Regions from separate parts of the Homo sapiens genome. Here region 2 is linked to region 1. Evidence: promoter capture Hi-C in human tissues and cell types (Jung and others, 2019). All regions are on one chromosome and are shown on one strand. The core of a region is centred on a gene start or on the middle of the fragment in contact, and the rest is flanking DNA. Distances in the headings are between cores, read along the strand shown.

Region 1 (5,976 bases), core at 937-3,436:
GTCTGCCCACCCAGCCCCACCCCATGAAGCCATCTGTCCCTCATCCCCACAGGGCCCGCCCTTCATGGAGAGCCTGCCCGAGAACAAGCCCCTGGTGTGGAGTCTGGCAGTTTCACTCCTGGCCATCATTGGCCTGCTCCTCGGCTCCTCGCCCGACTTCAACAGCCAGTTTGGCCTCGTGGACATCCCTGTGGAGGTCAGTGGCCCTGTGGAGGTGACCCTGGGGCTCAGCTTGATGGGTCCCTCCTATGGCAGTGACCCTGAGCTGGGCTGCAGGTCTCCAGCTCACCATCCCTCCCTGCCCCGACAGTTCAAGCTGGTCATTGCCCAGGTCCTGCTCCTGGACTTCTGCCTGGCGCTCCTGGCCGACCGCGTCCTGCAGTTCTTCCTGGGGACCCCGAAGCTGAAAGTGCCTTCCTGAGATGGCAGTGCTGGTACCCACTGCCCACCCTGGCTGCCGCTGGGCGGGAACCCCAACAGGGCCCCGGGAGGGAACCCTGCCCCCAACCCCCCACAGCAAGGCTGTACAGTCTCGCCCTTGGAAGACTGAGCTGGGACCCCCACAGCCATCCGCTGGCTTGGCCAGCAGAACCAGCCCCAAGCCAGCACCTTTGGTAAATAAAGCAGCATCTGAGATTTTAAAAAGCCCTGCCTCCACCTCGTCTGTGCCACACGGTGTTTGCTGGGGGCTCGGGGACAGAGGGTCACTGAGGAAGGTCCCAGCACCCTCCCCACAGGCGTGTGATGTTGGTGAAACCCTCTGGCACTTTCAGCACTTGAACATGGACTTGTCCCTGCCCAGAGAATTCAGTGCATATTTTCTAGTTTAACAAGCACCCCCATATTTCTGAGGTCTCTTTCACATTTTAACAACTCAGGTGCTGAGAGAAGCCTTAGGATGTGTGATATTTTTTTCTTTCCCATAATACATAACAGCATGCCTTTCTCTCGGGTGGTGTCTGAGACTTGAGGAATATGATCTGCATCATTACAAGTATTGACTCTGTCCGGTGGCTCAAGCCTGTAATCCCAGCACTTTGGGAGGCCAAGGCGGGCCCATCACAAGGTCAGGAGATCGAGACCATCCTGGCTAACACAGTGAAACCCCATCTCTACTAAAAATACAAAAAATTAGCCAGGCATGGTGGCGAGTGCCTGTAGTCCCAGTTACTCGGGAGGCTGAGGCAGGAGAATGGCGTGAACCCAGGAGGTGGAGCTTGCAGTGAGCCGAGATAACGCCACTGCACTCCAGCCTGGGCAACAGAGCGAGACTCCAACTCAAAAGAAAAACAAACAAGTACTGACTCTGTCATGCTCTTTGGGGGCCTGCGCTGCTCTACCATCTCATGTCACAGTCAGGGAGCTCTGGCTGAGCATCAGCCAGGATGTGACCTGGAAACCTGGCTTGGCTCTTAGGTTGATAGTGTTATTCCTTTCAATGGACTCACTCATCACAACTCAAGAACTGCAGAGTAGGCAGCACGGAGCCAGTCAGAGAATCCTTGCCTCCTTAACAGCCAAAGCCTTTGGACACAAAGTTATAAACATACTTTAAAGTCTATTTCCAGCCCCAAAATTCCACTGTGCTGGGGGTGGGAGCATTTTTATAACAGGCGGCTTGTGGCAACCCCAGAGCTGGTGCTTTTGGACAAACCTCCACTCCCTACCTAAAAGGGCTGCTCCCTGGTGTGCTGTAATTGGGGCCTTGAGCCTGATCCAGCTTTGAGGGTCACGGAAGGGGCGTCCCCCAGGCCAGGGGTTCTCCAGCCCGAGTATTAGAATTTTGGTTGGAATCGGACAGAATATCAGGCCTCCACCAGGGGGCGCCATGGCTCCAGCGAGGCCCAGGTGGTTTCAGGGCTCCGAGAGACAACCTGGGCAAGGGGATCACCAGGGTCGCGGGTTGTGGGAGCTCCTGGGAGAGGCCCCCCGGGACAGGTGGACTCTGCAACCATTCAGGGAGGAGGGGGCTGGGGCTCCGTGGGATTTGGGGTAGCACAAAGATCTGAGAGGGAACCTATGGCCCAGATGAAGTCTTAGGATGCCCAGGTCAGGGGCACTGCAGCCTCGAGTGGTCGCTCAGGGGGCCCTGGCCCGACCCAGTTTCAAGCGGCTCAGGTAGAGAAGGGCACTATCAAGGCTTCCGGGCTACGGGGGCGTGGTCTGATGCGGGGGCGTGGCCTCCGCTGGGCAGGGCGACGCGGAACCGAGGCGGCGGCGGCGGCTGCGGCGGCAGGAAATCGGGGCTCGGCCCCGCCGGCGCGCGACCCCATCCCCATCCCGGTCCCTGCAGAGCGATCCCCGGGCCCAGATATGGACGCAGCAGAGCCGGGTAGGGGGTCGGGGATCCGGGAGGGGCCTCCCCCGACCATCCCCTGCTTCCTACATTGAGGGCACACACTTGTCCCGCTCCGTCCTGAGAGCCAGGAGAGGAGTTCCTGAATGGGAAGGACCCAGGGATCCTCCATTGTGGGGAGCCCTGTGCCCGGATGGGTTCAGGACCCCAGCCCTTCACTCCCCCTCCCCCTTTTGATCCCTCACCCCAGACGCCTGGGGGAGGGGGCCCAGGAAGGGGAAGTGACTGCTTCTGCTTCTGATTTTTGTGATGGGGGCAGGGTGCCACGACTGCTGAGGGAGAGGGCAACGCGGTAGGATCCCCACAGGGCCCCTCTGTAGCCCTGGGGAGTCGGCAGTGCTGGTCTAGGCCCCTTAGGAGAGGGGGCAGGGGGGCAGCAGTAGAAATGTGGCGGGGTCCGACTTGGTGTTTCCGGCCGTCTTTGTGTCTGTGTTGTGTATGTGGAGTGTCATTCGGTCTTTATGTCCCTCACGGCTTCAGTCTCTCCATGTGTGTTTCTGCCCCAGGCTCTGCCTGGCTGTCCCTTGTGTATTTCCATCTGTCTAGCCCGTGGTTCCATTGTCAGACCGGCTTTCTTCTCGGGACAGCCTGGTTGCATCTGGGGCATCTGTTTTGTTGGTTTGCTTCTGGGTGCAGGCAGACCCAGGGAGTGGGTGTCTCTGTTCCCCGAGCAGCTGTCTCTGGTCTCTGGTGGTGTGTGAGTCCATCTGCCTGCCTCGAGTTGGCCCCAACCAAGCCCCCCCCAGCCCTCTCTTTCTCTCTCTCACTCTTCCCTTTCTCTTCCACCCCCTCCAAATGAGACTGGTTGAGGTGCCGTGGGTGGAGGGAGGCAGTGGTTAGCCCATGTATTACACTCCCCTCCCCTAGGACTCCCCCCAGGTCCTGAGGGCAGGAAGAGGTACAGTGACATCTTCCGGAGCCTGGACAACCTCGAAATCTCACTGGGGAACGTGTGAGTCTGAGCCTGGATCACCCCCAAATCCTGCCAAGATGCCCCAAGCCCCTAACCATTTAGGTGCCTTGCAGTCCCATTTGGAACCTGTAACATCTGGACCTACATACCTAATAACCAGAGAAGTCTAGGATGGGACCCTCCAAAATGCCTCGGTATCCTAAAAGTGTCCCCCTAAATAGACTGGAAATCCCCAAAGTGGTCCTAGAACCCCTACATATCCTTGTAACCCCTTAAAATATTTGCGATCCCTATAATCCCACTCTATGAACCTCAAAGTTATCTGGGGCCCTTCAGATGCTTTTTCAAGTCCTATTTAAAAAAAACTCACCTGATTCCCCCAAAACACCATTCTTCAGACCTCCCAGACACAAGAGATGCCACAGAGGTGATGTTTGCCACAAACAACCCTAAGGTCCCCAGCACCCCTTGGCAGGACAGACTGGGTGTAAGGTGGCATCCTGACACACCTTTATCCCCCAGGACCCTTGAGATGCTGGCTGGAGACCCTCTACTCTCAGAAGACCCAGAACCTGACAAGACCCCTACAGCCACTGTTGTGAGTGGGGAGTAGGGGAACAGGGAGGAAGACCTCAAGCAGAGGGGGCCTTAGGAAGGCCAGGCCCCTGCCCTGTTTGCTTCTGAATACTGTCTCCCTCCCGCACAGACCAACGAAGCCAGCTGTTGGAGCGGCCCCTCCCCAGAGGGTCCTGTACCCCTCACAGGTAGGGGGGTCTGGAGGCCAGGACAGTGGGGACAGACAGGAGTCTTTCCTTCAACAAATCACCACTGATCCCCTGTTCCATGCAAGGCATCGTTTAGGTTTTGGGAATATGGCAGTACACACAACAGATCTCAGTCCCAGCCCTCAGGGAGACCCCAGGCAGGGTGGAGGCTGAGGTAGGAGGATCACTTGAAGCCAGGAATTCGTGACCATGCTGGGCAACAGTAAGACACCATCCCTACCAAAAGAAAAAATATTTTTTTAATTAGCTGGGTGTGGTGGTGTGTGCCTGTAGTCCCAGCTACTTTGGAAGCTGAGGCTGGAGGACTGATTAAGCCCAGGACTTTGAGGCTGCAGTGAGATACGATTGTGCCACTGCACTCCAGCCTGGATGACAGAGCAAGACCATGTCCAAAAAAATCAAACACAAGGCCGGACGCAGTGGCTCACGCCTGTAATCCCAGCACTTTGGAGGCTGAGGCGGGTGGACCACGAGGTCAGGAGATCGAGACCATCCTGGCTAACATGGTGAAACCCCATCTCTACTAAAAATACAAAAAAATTTAGCCGGGCGCAGTGGCGAGTGCCTGTAGTCCCAGATACTCGGGAGGCTGAGGCAGGAGAATGGCGGGAACCCAGGAGGCGGAGCTTGCAGTGAGGCAAAATAGGGCCATTGCACTCCAGCCTGAGCGACAGAGCGAGACTCCGCCTCAAAAATAAAAATAAAAAAACCCATCAAACACAGGCCGGGCACGGTGGCTCATGCCTGTAATCCCAGCACTTTGGGAGGCCGAGGCGGGCAGATCACCTGAGATTGGGAGTTCGAGACCAGCCTGACCAACATAGAGAAACCTCGTCTCTACTAAAAATACAAAAAATTAGCCGGGCATGGTGGCGCATGCCTGTAATCCCAGCTACTCAGGAGGCTGAGGCAGGAGAATCGCTTGAACCCGGGAGGCAGAGGTTTTGGTGAGCCAAAATCGCGCCATTGCACTCTAGCCTGGGCAACAAGAGCGAAACACAGTCTCAAAAATAAATAAATAAATAATAAAATAATAAAAAATAAAAAACAAAAAACAGTGAATCTGTAAAATTGCAACCAGGACAAGTGATCCCAAAGTAGTGTTTGGGGAGCTGTGAGGCTGTAGGACAGGTGCCACTGGGCTGGTCTGGGGGCTTAGGGAAGACATCCATAGCAGACTAGGGTGCAAAGGTCAGAGGTCCATCCATCTTCCCCAGGGGAGGAACTGGACTTGCGGCTCATTCGGACAAAGGGGGGTGTGGACGCAGCCCTGGAATATGCCAAGACCTGGAGCCGCTATGCCAAGGAACTGCTTGCCTGGACTGAAAAGAGAGCCAGCTATGGTGAGGACCTCTTCCGCCCAGCCCCAGTTACCAGGCAGTCCCCAGACCCCAGCTAGACCCAGAGCCCGGCTCTCTCTTCCCCCAGAGCTGGAGTTTGCTAAGAGCACCATGAAGATCGCTGAAGCTGGCAAGGTGTCCATTCAACAGCAGGTAGTCATGACCAGACCCCCCCGGAGAGCCCAAGCCCCCTAGAACCCCACCTTTGTCCCCCACAGATCTTCAGTATCCTCCTACACCACTCTGTCTTCCCCAGAGCCACATGCCTCTGCAGTACATCTACACCCTGTTTCTGGAGCACGATCTCAGCCTGGGAACCCTGGCCATGGAGACAGTGGCCCAGCAGAAAAGAGACTACTACCAGGTGAGGGGGGCAGGGTGGAATGTTACAGAGGTCACCCTGCTATCCTGCTGTCCTTCAGGCCTGATCCCCTCGTTTCCCAGCAAGCTGGGAGGAAGGCACCACTACCAACGTCGCCATTTCATTGATGAGGAAGCTGAGGCCCGGGGATGCTTGGGAACTTGCCCAAGGTTACCCAGCAAAGATTCAAGCTGGGCTTCCTGTGCAATTGCAAAACTTCA
Region 2 (4,337 bases), core at 658-3,157, 110 kb after region 1:
GCGGCCTGTAGGCCCCCATGCATGCGTGCAAAGGCCTTACTTGCTGTCTCAGCCCCCTCCCCCGGTGGGCACCGGCTAGCCGAGCGCGCCCACGACCCGAGCCAGCGGCCTGAAACAGGTGCAGGGCAGACTGGGTTCCCCGCGACCCCAGTTCTGCCGCCCAGGGCCTGACCTGGTCCATCCCGGTGCGCTGAGCTCTTGCCTCTGTCTGACCGGCCTCTCACTTAGATCTTGAACTTGGGGCATCACCTCCAGGGGCTGTCATGTCCGGGGACCAGGACGGCGCCGGGCCCTTCGTCTAGTGTGTGCCCTCTCCTCACACGACCCCAGTAGCCCAAGCCCCACCCCCAACAAGCCCGCAGCAGAGACGGGACTCCGAGGCAGGCTAACTCACCTTCCCAGTCCTCCAGGGCTGGTGAGGGCTGGCCGGTGTACACGGACCGTCTTTCCAGGCCCAGTGCAGTCGCCATTGGCTCCTCGGTGGGGGTGGCGTCTGTGGGTGAGGAGTGGGGAGAAGGAAGCACGCTGCTACTGATGGGGACCGCTGGGAGCCTCCTTTTAGGCAAGGTGCAGCCACGATCATCCCCCCCCTTTTTTTTTTTTTTTTTGAGACGGAATCTCCCTCTGTCACCCAGGCTGGAGTGCAGTGGCACGATCTCGGCTCACTGCAGCCTCTGCCTCCTGGGTTCAAGTGATTCTCACACCTCAGCCTCCTGAGTAGCTGGGATTACAGGCACGCTCCACCAGGCCTAGCTAATTTTTATATTTTTAGTAGAGACGGGGTTTCACCATGTTGGCCAGGTTGGTCTCAAACTCCTGACCTCAGGTAGTCCGCCCGCCTCGGCCTCCCAAAGTGCTGGGATTACAGGCGTGAGCCACCGTGCTTGGCCCATGATCCCCATTTTAACAGGAGGGAAAATTGAGGCTCTGAGAGGCCAGAACCCAGCTCTAGCCCCAAGGGCTGCCATACACTCTCCTCCAGCGCGCTGCCCATGACCACCACCAGGCCCCCAAAGCCAGGTACCTCTCTCTGACCTAGCCCTAACCCCCCGGCTGGGGAAGTGCAAGTACCACCCAGTTCCCCTAGGCTAGAGTCTCCCTCCCACTATGTTCAGCTGCCGCGAGATCAATCAAGTTCAGCTGGCTGTGCCTCTGCCCTCAGGCTGGGCTCCCCCTCATCCACTTGGCCTGCTGGAAGCCCCTCCCTTAGTCTGTCTTCCATCCCTGTACTACAGTCCGAGCTGCCGGGAAGTCCTTGGAATCTAGACTGGCTTCTCCAAGATAGGAGCTGTCCAAGATACTCCCAGCAGAGTGATGAGGTCAGACAAGCCCCTTCCTTCTGGGTGCCTCAGTCTCCTCACTTGAGAAGTGGGCCCGTCCCCCGCCCCATTGAGTGTTCCAGGGATGGGCATTTCTTTCTCCAGCGGTTGGAGTGAGTGCGTGTGTGGGAGTTAGGTGGGAGGGGCCAGTTCCGACCCCTTCGGTCCAGGGTGGGAGACCTGGCCGGTGATTCAGAGTCCAAACCCCGGGAGGAACCCTAGGTTCTTATCCACACTCCCGGCTTAGCCAAGGAAGAGAATGGATGAGGCCCGCTCCGCGCCCCAGGTGGTCGCGGGGATCCGACTGGTGAAGGGGACCCAGTCCCCGGGGAAGCGCGTGGGTCCCTGGGTTCTCTCCCCGAGTGCGGCTTCACCCAAGGCCGGCTGCCAGGCCCTCGGGAGCCTCAGGGGCTGGGCGCGGGGGCTGGAGGCGCCTCACCTCGGGCCCCCGCCAGGTGCGCAGCGACGACACAGAGACAGAGCAGTGGCAGCAGCGACGCCATGGCCGGGGCAGAGCGTCCGAGGGAGGGTCCGGGCTCCGCGGCGTGCTCGGGTCCAACTCCGGCGGGTCTGGCGGCCGCTGGGACTGAGAGTGGGGGCGGGATGCGACCGCAGATCCCGCCCTGGCCACGCCCCATTCAGGCCACGCCCCCTGGCCCTGGGTGACGGCGCTCGAGCAACCCCTCTGGGTCGCCCCCCTTGGTGCGTCTGGCTGTGCCTCCGTCCTCAGGCTGTCCTGGGTTCCCCGTGGCCTGCTGGAACTCCCTCCCCGAGCCCACTCAGTCCTCCAAGCTGCATCCCAAGCTGCCTGAGGGAAGTGTCACTTGGAATCCAGCCTCAAGCTGCTCGGACCCGCTTTAGGTGGCTGGAAGTCCTGTCTCGCGTCTCACTTCGATCCTATAGGCTTTAGGCCACCCCAAACAGTCTGGGAGTCCCACCCTGAATCTACCCTCCATTCTTCTGGCTCGAGTTTTCTTTCTTCTTTTTCTTTTAATTTGTAGAGTCGGGATCTTGCTATGTTGCCCAGGCTGGTCCCAAACTCCTGGCCTTAAGCGATCCTCCAGCCTCAGCCTCCCAAAGTGCTGAGATTACAGGCAGGAGCCACCGCCCCCAGCCCTAGCTGAAGTTTTCTAGGCCAGCGGGAAGTCCCACTCCACCGCCCTTCTCATGCTCCCCGCCTTGGATCACCCAGGGACCGTGTGAAGTCCCTCTTCGAGTGTGCCCACCCCCGCAGCGGGCCCGGTGCACAAAGGAGGCGGAGGCGAGGCGGCGGTGGTGGGAGGGCTGTTTATTGGCGAGGGTCCCTGCGGTGTGGCCGCGGGTGGCGGTCACAGTGCCGCGACGCAGTCGGTGCCCGTGTATCCCGGCAGGCGCAGAGCGAACTTGCGGCGCACGTCATCGGGCACGAACCTGCCGGCCACGAAGTGGTGGCGCCCGGAGAAGCGGCCAGCGCAGCGCTTGGGCGCCGCGAGAGACACCAGCACGTCAGGCCGCAGCCCGTCCTCCGAATCGCTGCCGGTCTCTGCGTCCCAGCCTGAGGGAGGAGGGTCCGGGGGGATTGGGAACTGGGAGGGTGGCCTGCCCTCAGCCTAGAGTCCATCCTGTCCCTGCCTCCTCTCCTCTCCCCTCCAACACTGAGCCTCTGCCCTCAGACCAGAGTCCTGCTGCCCCACCCCCACTTCCCCTCCCCCATCAGACCCAGCCTTTTCTCTCTGGCACATGGGTCCTGGTGAGACTTGTCGCCCCCTAGAACTCTGCCTCCGCCCTCAGACAAGTCTCTCCCAGTCCTTGGAGGTGTTTCCCTCCCAATCAGACCAGAGCTTCTGCACTCAGACTTTCTGCTTCTGCTCCTATCCTACTATTCAATCGCCCTCCTCCATCTGACCCAGCCTCTGTCTTCAGTCACCCAGGCTGGAGTGCAATGGTGCAATCTCGGCTCACTGCAACCTCTGCCACACGGGTTCAAGCAATTCTCCTGTCTCAGCCTCCCGAGTAGCTGGGACTACAGGCACACGCCACCATGCCTGGCTAATTTTTGTATATTTAGTAGAGATGGAGTTTCACCATATTGGCCAGGCTGGTCTCGAACTCCTGACCTTGTGATCTGCCCACCTCGGCCTCCCAAAGTGCTAGGATTATGGGTGTGAGCCATTGCGCCCAGCCTGTTTGTTTTTAAGATACAGTCTCTCTCTATTGCCCAGGCTGGAGTGCAGTGGCACGATCTCAGCTCACAGCAACCTCTGCCTCCCGGGTTCAAGCGATTCTCCTGCCTCAGCCTCCCAAGTAACTAGGACTACAGGCGTGCACCACTACACCCAGCAAATGTTTGTATTTTGTAGAGACTGGGTTTCGCCATGTTGGCCAGGCTGGTCTGGAACTCCTGACATCAGGTGACCCGCCCACCTCGACCTCCCAAAGTGCTGGGATTACAGGTGTGACCCCTGCACCCAGCCTCCGTCACCTCTTGAATGAGCCTCCACTTTCAGCCTAGGAGCCTTGCCTTCTCTCCTATCTCTGACTTGATTCTGGGGCCACTCACCAGAAGACACTGGATCCTCCCTCAGACTTTAATCCTTCTCTGACCCTAGCCACCACCCTCAGACTAGAGGTTCCTAACCATCCCCTCTGACCTGACAGAGCCACCCTCTCTGTCCTAGGCTGAGCCTGCAGCCTCCCTACTCAGATCAGACAGCACGCCGCCTCCCTTGGTGCCCCTGCTCTGTGGCACCTGCTGGGATGTCCCTGGGATCCCGAGAGCCAGGGGACATCCCCCGGAGTCCAGCCACCCCCACGGAGGGTCCGGCTGGCCAGCGGCTGTTTGTTCCGTCTGCCTGTCGCCTAATGGTTCCAACAGGCATGGGGCGGCAGCCAGGGCGGGCGCGGCCTTTGCCGAGTGAGCTCACGTCTGCCCAGGCAACTGGGCCAGGGGTGGGCAGAGGGCATGTGGGCTGGGCACTGGGGTGGAGGAAAGAGGAGACCTGGGGTCACCTGGGGTGGCAGCCTCGATCTTCCCCATCA

The links. The method cuts DNA at HindIII sites, captures the fragments that hold promoters and counts their contacts. A contact is called where the count stands out against the background at its distance.
Region 2: the fragment with the promoter of CILP2 here is called in contact with the fragment with the promoter of GMIP in region 1 in 2 of the 25 tissues and cell types used here (lymphoblastoid cells and mesenchymal stem cells).

What each region holds. Positions count from the first base shown.
Region 1 is chr19:19,639,867-19,645,842 of GRCh38, reverse strand. It overlaps GMIP (GEM interacting protein), which reads left to right and starts at 2,186. Exons shown (of 21, transcript NM_016573.4): 1 at 2,186-2,332; 2 at 3,224-3,308; 3 at 3,792-3,867; 4 at 3,976-4,033; 5 at 5,272-5,397; 6 at 5,483-5,547; 7 at 5,651-5,758. The coding sequence starts at 2,314. It overlaps ATP13A1 (ATPase 13A1), which reads left to right. Exons shown (of 26, transcript NM_020410.3): 25 at 53-196; 26 at 311-645. The coding sequence ends at 421. RefSeq lists a silencer at 2,093-2,342 and enhancers at 2,973-3,132, 2,354-3,309. The HindIII fragment of the contact is 23,421 bases long and covers 1-4,293 here.
Region 2 is chr19:19,535,835-19,540,171 of GRCh38, reverse strand. CILP2 (cartilage intermediate layer protein 2) reads right to left here and starts at 1,907. Exons shown (of 8, transcript NM_153221.2): 1 at 1,759-1,907; 2 at 395-493. The coding sequence starts at 1,822. YJEFN3 (YjeF N-terminal domain containing 3) reads right to left here. Exons shown (of 7, transcript NM_198537.4): 7 at 2,591-2,853. The coding sequence ends at 2,648. RefSeq lists an enhancer at 1-569 and a silencer at 1,662-2,031. The HindIII fragment of the contact is 34,738 bases long and covers 1-4,337 here.